Regions from separate parts of the Homo sapiens genome. Here region 2 is linked to region 1. The links are contacts of gene promoters, found by promoter capture Hi-C in blood cells and fetal thymus (Javierre and others, 2016). All regions are on one chromosome and are shown on one strand. The core of a region is centred on a gene start or on the middle of the fragment in contact, and the rest is flanking DNA. Distances in the headings are between cores, read along the strand shown.

Region 1 (5,516 bases), core at 625-3,124:
GGACTGCCCTAGTCATGCCAGCTCTTCTTGGGCCCCCACGTCCCCAGCAACCAGCTCTTCTCTTCCTAAGCTGATCCCTGAGCTTGGGGTGCTGCCTGCCCACTGGACTCTCAGTCCTCCGGGCTATCATGAGGCCTTTGGGAGCAACCCCACTGCCTCTGGGTCAATCTCAGGACCCTCTGGGACACCATCTCCAGGGTACCCAAGCGGCCTCGAGAAGGCGCCGCAGAGTCCACACATTTCCCTGCAAGGCTTTCACTGCTCCCACCCAGCCTCCCTCTTTCCCAAGCTTAACCCAGGTTAGTTAAGGAGAAACCTGAGCTGCTCTCACCTCCACCCACTGCTCATCAGAGTAGAGCTTGAGCAGCACGCAGGGGTGGGGTTTGGTGAGTGTGTCCCGGTCCAGGAGGCCATGGCAGGACACCCGCAGCTCCACCCGAGAGGCCCCCAGCGTCATGGTTGGGGGCTCAGGCACCCATCCCATCTCAGGGTCCGACATGTCACTGTGGGGACAGAGCAGGTGGCCTGGACTCTGGAAAGGGAACACCTGCCAGCAGAGGGGTCTATCCTCTAGGGTCCCTGGGCCCCACCCCTTAACCTCCTTCCCTAGACCCTGGGGCCTCACGGACCTCCTGCTTCCTCAGCTTCACCAGAGTTCTGAGCAGGGGAGGGCAGAGGACCTGAGCCTCCCACTCCTGCTCAGAAGCCCTGTGCTGCTGGCCTAGGTATGCGTGGATGGGGCTGGAGAGGGCTGAAGGATTGGGGTGGGGATGTTCCTGGCAGTCTTGGCTCCTAGGCCATCGATTGATCTACACTTTCTGCCGCCTCAGCACCTTCTGCTATTTCCCGACTGGTGTTGTGCCAGCGCTGCACTCAGTCTTGGCACGAGGGAGCTAAACTAGGGCAAGGGGGTGGGGCAGGGGGTGGAGAGGCCTCTGGAGTTCTGAAGAGGATGGGTCTCAGAAGTGGAGTCTGCAGTGGGCAGGAGACAGGTTGGAAAGTCCCCTGCTGGGCTATCCCTATCCACTCCCTACCCCCATTCCCCTTCTGGCTAGCTGATGGAAAAGGAGTGGTGGTGGGCTGGGAGGCAGGACCAGGGCTCTGCTGAAAGCTCCTTCAGGCTCCTGGCAGGAGCTCTAACTGTGACAAGCCTCACATCCCTCCCCACCTCCCCTGTTTTCACACTTCTTGGCAGCACTGGCACCGTCTCTTAGCGACAGGATTTTTGGGGAGTCGTGGCTCCCTCCATGCTGCCCGTGGGATGCACGCATGCCACCTTCCCCCAGCAGTGGTACCAAGCCTCGGGCTGAAGCAGGCAGGGGTATGCCGGCCAGAGTTCATGGCCGGTCAGTCCATCTATCTGTGTCTGTACAGATCTCAGGGTGAGGCTGTCTGATCCCATGTCATGCTTCCCCGAGTGAGTGTGCATTGGTGTGTCTGAGTGCCCCACCCTCCGTGTCTGTCCCCCCATGTCGTGTGTCCGTTTCCAGGAGGGTGTGACAGTTCCTGTACCTCCCTCAGAAGTGGGACCTTTCTCTGGCTGGGTATCTACCTCCCCACAGTGTGTGCCTTTCTGGATATGTGAGGGAGGGTCTGGGCTGGGGGAGGGGGGTCTCTGCCTTCCAGCCACAAGTCTCCCAGTTCTTGGGGGTCCCCGAGATAGGCAGGGGCTTGTGGTGGTGAAGGGATTGGGCAGGGCTGGGATCTCTCTGCGGGCTCCAGGAGATGTTGTTATGGAGACTGGGCCAAGCTGGGCTGGGCTGGGGCTGGGCTGGGGAGGAAGGGTGGGCTCACCTGGGCTCTCGGTCGGGGGCTCCTCTCTCCGGCTCTCTGGCCCTGGCCCTGACTCCCTTGCTGCTCCAGCCGCTGGCGCCGGCTCCAGCTCCGGCTCTGCTGCTATTTATGGGGCCTGGATGGGGAGGGGTGGGGGGGGGCGCAGCACCAGCTCCCCCCGCGTGGATGGATTGGGAGGGAGAAGAGGGAAGGGGCAGGGCCACAGCCTGGGAGGGAGCCACAGAACCGGGGGAGGAGGGCAGGCTGGGGGTGGCTTAGAGGCAGGACCCCCACAGACACAGTGACACACATCTTCCCCTTCACACTACACCCACACCCAGAATCGCAGAGATGCGCACATTGCAGTGGCATGCACATACACATTCAAACAGAGAAATGATGGCGACACATGCACCCACGACTCACAGGCTCACACATATCTTGACACACACAGGCGCCAGTACATAAACTCACTGTGACACCACGACAGTTACAGCCCCCGGCGGATACACATTGGGAAACATACCCCTTCTCACATCACTTTCAACATTGTTACACTAGCTAAGGATATCTGCAGTCACATATACAGGAACACTGGGCTGTCCTTGTCACACATGTACTCACTCAAACTAACCCGGAATACAGCAGGATGTGATCTTCCCGTGCTCCTTAAAAGCCATCACATACCTTGCTGAACGTCATAGCTTTGAGAATGATGTCCAGTTCCCTAGCCACCATTTTATAAGGAGACACAGGAAATGGACATAATTGCTTAAGGACACCCAACCTCATATCCTGGTCACATGAGGGCATCTGCTGAAGGACTGACTCCCAAGGCTTCTTCCCGGTGCCACAATGTACCCAACACCCCCCAAGATTCAACCCATATGGCCTTACCCTTGTGGGAGGGGCTGTGCCATGCACAGATCTTAAGGAAACAAAACAAGTAATTCCTGGTGAAATCAGTAAGTAAGGGAAGTAAGCAGTTGCCTGGGGAGCTGCAAACCACACATGAAGACATTTGGGCACATTGTGGTCTGCGATGAGTACGCAAGAGCATTTACCTTCGCCCTCCATCCCCTTAAGCTGCTCATGTATTAATATAGCAGCCATTTATTGAGCATCTCCTGGGTGTCAGGCACTGTGCCAGGTGCTGGGGCTACACAGGTGATTAAGACACAGCCTCTGCCCCTGGGGGAGGCAGATGTATATGGAACAGAAAGACAGGCAGACAGAGAGAGGATAAGCCAATACGCATACGCAATGAAGCGTGACAGGTGCAATGTTATGGACCTGCTCAGGATGCAGTGGGAGCACATTAAAGCAGGGTGCAATATGGATGAGTGGGGAAGGCATCAGGAAGGACTTCACAGAGGAAGGGGCTTTTGAGTGGGATCTTGAATGCCAAGATAGTATTTGCTAGAACACCATGGGAGACAGCTACTTTAGTTGCTGACCTCATGCCACAGAGACTTCTGTTCACCTGCAAGCCACTCTGCTATTGAGACTTCTGACTAGTGAGGGTGCCCCCAGGACGACACAACATCATGTAATTCCCCCATTAGTGTGCATGCATGCACACACACACACACACACACACTGCTCCCGTGTCCCTCTGGTACACTGGGGCTTCCAATCCCATTACACCCCCAAAAGCTGGACAGACTTTGTGTTGGTTTCTGTCCTTTTGGTTCTTTCTCCAGGAAGCTCAGCCCTGACCCTGGGCATAACACCCATCTTGGCTTGGGGACTTATCAGTCCCCTTCCCTCGGCAGTTCTCTGTTTTTTTCTCCTGCTCCTCTCAGAACCCCAAGTCTATCCCTGTGGAATGTTTCTCATTTTTCTCCACTGTGGCCAAGCTCTGAGGGTTTGTGGGAAGAGAGCAGATTGTGGAGGCAGTGAATGGGGAAGATAGCAGAGACTCGAGGCAGGCGATGATTTTGTTTTTTTATTCTATACAAGAGGGGAGAGAGTCCCTGGGGATAGAGGGACAGAGATCCACCCTCCTGGGGGAGGAGATAAGCCCCCACCCAGAAGCTCTCTGCAGAGAGAGGTATCGAGGCAGGCACTGACAGCCTCCGTCTCTCCAGGTGGCTCCCTCTGTTCTAGTCCCTGCCTCCAGCTCCCCCATGCCTGGTCCTGCCGTCTTGCCCCTGTAGGACAGGGGCTGGCAGGGGGCCCTGGGGACTGGGGGTGGATAGGGGTCTGAGTCCTTGCGAGGCACATGTCGAGGGCTGAGGAGGGTGTTGTGGCAGTTGTCAGTCTGTTCCTGGCTCACTGGTTCCTGCTGGGGACAAATCCAGGGAGCCCTGTTTCCTGGGCAGGGACAGCCAGCCACCTGGTGTTGGGGCTTCGGGGGGTGTCATGTTGGACAGATAGGTGGGAAGGGGGGACCTGCCCTCTCACCACCAGCACCTGTGGGGTCAGGAGGCCGTCTTCTATCAGGTTCCAGCTTGTCACAGGACTGTGCCCGCCGTGTCCTCTTGGGCTTCAGGGGGGCAGTCCGCCGGCCTGGATCAGGGGGCCCTGAAATAACAATCAAGGCAGGCCTAACACAGGAGTGGGGCTCATGCTGGGATGCTCATCCAGGCTGTGACTCCTGGTTGTCACTCATTCCATGCTCTGGAAGAGGACCTGATGTGGACAGCAAAGTCCTAGAGGTGCCCTGAGCCCCCCACTCAGCCAGGGTGGCAGACCTTGGACTTCGGGCTCCTCTTGGTCTTGCTGTGAGCTCAGCCTCAGCCGGGGTTTGTTGACTCCTGGAGCTGCATCTCCAGCCTCAGCCTCCTCCCTGACCCCTGGCTCCTGGGGAGGCTGGCGGCCCCTGGGCACAGCCACTGGCTTGGGAGGCCATGGAGCTAGAGCGGGGTCCTGTAGCTGGCAGAGGAAGGAAGATGCTGGGTCAGTTAGTCCCTTTGCCTCATCAAAGTGCCTCCCCCACCCATCTTGCCAGCTCTCACCTTGGCATTCCTAGCTGGAAGTGTCCTCTCTGGGAAGAGGGTCCCCTCCTTCTCCTCTTCCCCATCTTGGGAGGCTGGGCTGGGACTCTGGCAGCTGTGGTTGGGGGCACTCTCTTCAGCTGGGGATGAGAGAGAGGAGAAGCTGCAGGAAAAGGCATTCTTGCATAGCTCCTGTCCCTGTCTCCTCTCTCCACTGAAGCCCTGGAGGCCAGGACTTTCTCCCTCCAAGCCCACTTGCTCCTATGTCTCTGCCTTTCATGTGCCTTTTTTTTTTCTTTTCTTTCTTTCTTTCTTTTTTTTTTTTTGGAGATGGAGTTTTGCTCTGTCACCCAGGCTGGAGTACAGTGGTGCAATCTTGGCTCACTGCAACCTCCACCTCTCGGGTTTGAGCGATTCTCCTGTCTCAGCCTCCCGAACAACTGGGACTACAGGTGCGTGCCACCACGCCCAGCTAATTTTTGTATTTTTAGTAGAGACAGGGTTTCACCGTGTTGGCCAGGATTGTCTCGATCTCTTGACCTAGTGATCCACCTACCTCGGTCTCCCAAAGTGTTGGGATTACAGGCATGAGCCACCGCACCCGGTCTTTCATATGCCTTTCTACATCCACGCTCCTTAGCCCTTGTTTCCCAGGATCATCCTGAGGCCATCACCTCTGGAGGGGACTCTGGCCTAGCTGTCCCTCTTGCAGAGCAGTGCCCAACCCCTTTCCTGCTGGGGCAGGGCCCAGGGCCTGCTGGGTCCACAGGCATGCTGCCCATCCAGGCTGCAGTGCCCTGGGGG
Region 2 (5,182 bases), core at 2,638-5,137, 460 kb after region 1:
CATTACACAGAAACTAACTCAAAACGGAACACAGACTTAAAGGTGAAACATAAAACTATAAAACATTTAGAAGAAAAAATAGCCTGTTAGTATGGTAAATTGCATGGACTGATTTTTGAATATTGAATGAGACTTGCATGATTGGTCATGGTATATACTGCTTTTTATAAACTGCTGAATTCTATTTGCTAATATTTTGTTAAGGGTTTCTGCATCTACATTTATGAGGGATATAGGACTGTAGCTTTCCTTTTTCTTTTTTTGTACTGTCTTTATTTGGTTTTAATATCAGCATAAAACAAGTTTTATAAAATGAATTGGGAAATATTCCCTCCTCTTCCATTTTCTGGAAGAGATTATGTGGAATTGGGCAGATCTCTCTAGTATATTCCAGAGGGGACAAGTGTTTCTTTCTTTCTTTGTTTAACAATGGTTAATGATTAGCTTGTGGAGGTGAGCCACTTATCTAATACAAGGTTCAATTCTACCCTATTTGTTTTTGTTTGCATTTTGAGATGAGGTCTCGCTCTGTCACCCAGGCTAGAGCGCAATGGCATGATCATAGCTCAGTGCAACCTCGAATTCCTGGGTTCAAGCAATTCTGCCTCAGCCTCCCAAGTAGCTAGGACTATGGGCGTGCACCACCACAACTGGCTAATTTTTTAAGTTTCTGTAGAGACAGGGTCTTGCTATGTTGCCCAAGCTAATCTCGAATTCCTGGCCTCATGCAATCTCCCACCTCAGCCTCTGAAGGTGCTGGGATTACAGGCATGAGCCACCACACCCGGCCTACCCTATTTGTTTTTATATATCTATGATTCTACTGTAGCTTTACCATGTGCCAGAAACTATTTTAGGCACTTTGTAAATATTAAATCTTTTACTCTTCATAACAACCATTTGAGATAGGTACTAGGATTGTTCTGATTTTACAGATGAGGAAACTGAGACACAGAGAGATAATGTAATTGGCACATGGTCACATAGCTAGTAAACAGCCCAGGCTTCTCTTCCCTTAACCACAGTGCTCTTCTGTCCACAGAAGAGGACATTATTATTATTATTTTCCTACTCTAGATAAGGAAACTGAAGCCTAGAGAGCTGAAGTGATTTGCCCAACTGAATGTAACCAAAGTAGAATTCTTGATTCCCACCCACCTCTCTCTCTACATCTCCCCATCTCCGAAAAGTGTTCTAGCCAAAAATTTGAGTGTCCCTTGAGTTTTCTCTTCACCTTACCTTCTGCTTTTAATCCATCAGCCAATCTTGTTGATTTTGCCTCCAAAATATGCATCAAGTTCTCCGCTTCTCTCCATCTCCGCCGCGCTCTCTCATCTGACCACTTCATTCCACTCATACACTCTCACAAGCTATTCTCTTTCCACCTGCAGACAGCATTAGCATTTTAAACATCAGTCTCCACTGCTTAAAACTCTGCAATGGCTTGCCATTGTACTAAGAATCAAATCCAAATTATTTCCCCAACTTACAGAGCCCCCACGGTGTCTGGCCCCAAGCTCTTCCCAGACCATCCTACTGCACTTTCCCCTCCACCTGCGTGCTTCAGCCTCCAGCCGGCCAGGTCAGGCCTGCCTTCACAGTCCCTGTATCTGCTGGCCCTTGAAAGCTCTTCCCACAAACACTTCATTGCTGTTAAATGTCAACCCTCATAGAGACATTCCCTGTTCACCTGGTATGAGACAGATCCTCAGCAGCGCTCTCTCCCACTTTTCTCTTTTATTTTCTTCATGGCACTTATCACCTGCCTAATATTTTTTGTTTGTTTGTTTAGGTTATTTCCTCACCTACTGGAATGTAAGCTCTGCAAGCTTATACTAATAACTAACACTTACGTAGTCCTTATTTTGTGCCAGGCACTGTTCTAAGTACTTTATATGTGTAAACTCACTTAGTCTCCACCACTATCCTGAAAAGTTGCACTCTGAACATCTCTGTGTTTCAGAAGATAAAACTGAGCAACAGAGAGGCAAGGTAACTTATCTATGGTCACACAGCTTGTAAGTCGTGAAGCTGGGATGCAAGCCCAGGCAGTCTGGCTATGGAGTCTGTGCTCTTTTTTTTTTTTTTTTTTTTTTGAGACGGAGTCTCGCTCTTATCGCCCAAGCTGGAGTGCAGTGGCGTGATCTCGGCTCACTGCAACCTCCACCTGCCGGGTTCAAGCAATTCTCCTGCCTCAGCCTACTGAATAGCTGGGATTACAGGCGTGTGCTACCACGCCCAGCTAATTTTTGTACTTTTAGTAGAGACAGGGTTTCACCACATTGGCCAGGCTGGTCTCGAATTCCTGATCTCAGGTGATCTGCCCACCTTGGCCTCCCAAAGTGCTGGGATTACAGGCATGAGCCACCGTGCCTGGCCGAATCTGTGCTCTTAACCCTCATCCTTTATGACCTTCATGGGAGTGGGGTGCTTATTTGTATTGTTCTCCACCAAGTTTCCAGCACCTGTAATAGTGCCCGACAGAGGGGAAGCACCAATAAATATTTGTAGAATAAGCAAATGAATGTTGTATAACTGGTTTAAAGATAAAGCTTGCCTTTGAACCAGATTGGTCGGGCTCCAAAACCACACTCTCCAGAGTATGGGATTGTAGTATTTCAATTTTCAACTCAGAAATTCACTGAAGCTTGCCCTCTACTCTAAAGATGTCTACAGTCCTGTGGGGAAGGCATATTTAAGTAACTACAAGCCAGGTAGAAAAACTGCGGTGTCACAAGGAAAGGGCACACAAAGTGCCATGAGGGAGTGATAACTTTTAACTAGTAGCTCAAGGAAGGATTTGAGGTGAAAGTGGCATTTGCACTGGGTTTGGAAGACTCTGGACAGGCAGAGATGAGAAGGAGCATGTAACTGAAACTACAAGTTGTCTCCTAATGTCTGTTTCCTCTTCTTCCACAGTAATCATATTCCAAAATGTTAGCTGTGCAATTGACCACTGAGAATAAAGGCTATATTTCCCAGCTGCCCTTGCAGCCAGGCACGGCTACCTGACCATGTTCTGCATAAAAGGTTATAGAGAAGTCAGGGATGAAACTTCCATGAGGTGTTCTCAAGTGGAAGGAGCATGCCCACCTCCTTTCTTTGTCTCCCTCCTGCTGTCTAGAACATGACTCTGATGACTGGAGACAAAGCAGCTATCTTTGGCCTCAGAAGGCACATGTTGAGGATGTGGACTACAATGTTGAGGCAGTCTGATCACGAAGGCACGATATGAGGCCCGCTACAGTCTTGTTTAAGCCACTGTTACAAGTGTCTTAGGTTGGGTTACCACAGCAGATCCTAAGACAAGGCTTTATGTGCAAGTAGTTTATTAAACAGATGCTCCCAGCAGGGAGCAATGGCTCCTATCTATAATCCCAGAACTTTGGGAGACCAAGACAGGAGGATTGCTTGAGGCCAGAAGTTTCAGACCAGCCTGAGTAACATAGTGAGACCCCTGTCTCTACAAAAAATTTAAAAATTAGCTGATCAGGTCATGTGTGCCTGTAGTCCCAGCTACTCAGGAAGCTGAGGCAGGAAGTTCCTTTGAGCATAGTAGTTTGAGGTTACAGTGAGCTATGATTATGCCACTGCACTCCAGCCTTAGTGGCAAAGTGAGACCTTGTCTCAAAAATAAAAATTAAAAAAATGCTCCCAGGAGAAACCAGTAAGGGAGTGTGGAAAGTAAGACAGGGAAGGGAGGAGGACAAGCAAGGGAATGTTTCAGCAAAGCCCCAGCCTTAGCCTGGTCCCAAAGGTCAGTTCTGGAGTGTAAACTACACCTCACAGTTTGCCCAGATTTCAGACAATGGAACTAGGCTGTTACCTAGTTCAGCTAAAGGCTGCCCCTGCTTCTCTCGATGTGCAGAAGCTGTGGGAGATGATTAAACGGGTCACAGGGGCTCTGGTGCAACCTCAATGGGCCCCTTACACTGGGTTTTCTCTCACTCATAACTTAACCTAATCCTAAAAAGTACCAAAAACATTTCTGGCAGAGGGGAGAGTATAAATAAAGTGCACAGAACCTGAAGGAACAAGAGGCTATATGAAAGTATTGGAAAGGAAGAGGACAGGAAAGAAAGAAATAGGAAACAAATTTGGAAAACCAAACTGTAGTCACTGGGACTTGATATGGTTTGGCTGCGTCCCCACCCAAAACTCATCTTGAATTGTACCTCCCCACATCTCGCTTCTGCACTGCCCTAGCAGAGGCTCTCCATGAGGGCCCTGCCCCTGCAGCAAACTTCTGCCTGGACATCCAGGCATTTCCATACACAGCAGTCGGGGCCTGGAAATGTAGGGTTGAAGCCCCCACACAAAGTCCCCACTGGGGCACTGCCTAGTGGAGCACCATCCTCCAGACCCTAGAATGGTAGATCCACCAACAGCTTGCACCATGCACCTGGAAAAGCCGCAGACACTCAACACCAGCCCATAAAAGCAGCCGGGAGGGACTTTGTACCTTGCAAAACCGCAGGAGTAGAATGACATGGTTTGGCTATGTCCCCATACTGTTCTCATGATAGTGAATAAGTCTCACGAGATCTGATGTTTTTATAAGGGGCTTCCCCTTTTGCATGGCTCTCTATCTTGCCTGCCACCATGTAAGAAGTCCCTTTGCTCTTCCTTGGTCTTCTGCCATGACTGTGAGGCCTCCCCAGCCATATGGAACTGTGAGTCCATTAAACCTCTTTTTCTTTATAAATCACCCAGTCTTGGGTATGTTTTATCAGCAGCGTGAAAATGAACTAATACAGAACTGTATAAAATTTTGAATTTCTGGCCAATGCATAAACAAAGGGAAACCAAAAGGACTTTGAATCTGATGATTCAGAAGATTAATCTGGCAACTATGTGTGAGAGGAATTGGAATGAAACTTGTGTAGGGTAATACCCATTATGAGGTCATATCTATAATCCAGGCAAGAGGTAATGGTGGCACAACCCCAGGTGATGGTGCTGGGAAGGGAAAGTAGAGAATAGTTGCGAAGTCTTACAGAGAAAGATCTGGTCTTTCTAAATGCTTTGACACGAGAGAAAAGAGACAGAGAGGATCCAAACATGAAGCCAGGGACAATGGTGGCATTGCCAACAAAAATAGGTAACAGAGGAGAAGAAACAAGCTTGATAGAAAATATGAATTCTACCTATTGACATGGTGACTTTGAGATGAAGGGAAGCC

What was found. The method cuts DNA at HindIII sites, captures the fragments that hold promoters and counts their contacts. A CHiCAGO score of 5 or more calls a contact.
Region 2: a contact is called between a fragment that was not itself captured here and the fragment with the promoter of CPNE6 in region 1, in 2 of 17 cell types (naive CD4 T cells and total CD4 T cells). The highest score is 7.5, in naive CD4 T cells.

Annotation. Positions count from the first base shown.
Region 1 is chr14:24,067,920-24,073,435 of GRCh38, reverse strand. It overlaps CPNE6 (copine 6), which reads right to left and starts at 1,874. Exons shown (of 17, transcript NM_006032.4): 1 at 1,795-1,874; 2 at 332-503. The coding sequence starts at 499. It overlaps CARMIL3 (capping protein regulator and myosin 1 linker 3), which reads right to left. Exons shown (of 40, transcript NM_138360.4): 37 at 4,734-4,852; 38 at 4,470-4,650; 39 at 4,189-4,299; 40 at 3,707-4,057. The coding sequence ends at 4,032. It overlaps LOC105370412 (a long non-coding RNA gene), which reads left to right and starts at 5,247. Exons shown (of 2, transcript XR_943619.2): 1 at 5,247-5,516. The HindIII fragment of the contact is 6,300 bases long and covers 292-5,516 here.
Region 2 is chr14:23,608,918-23,614,099 of GRCh38, reverse strand. No RefSeq gene overlaps it. Among named protein-coding and RNA genes, the nearest start is that of DHRS2, 25 kb to the left of the region's middle. The HindIII fragment of the contact is 2,476 bases long and covers 2,650-5,125 here.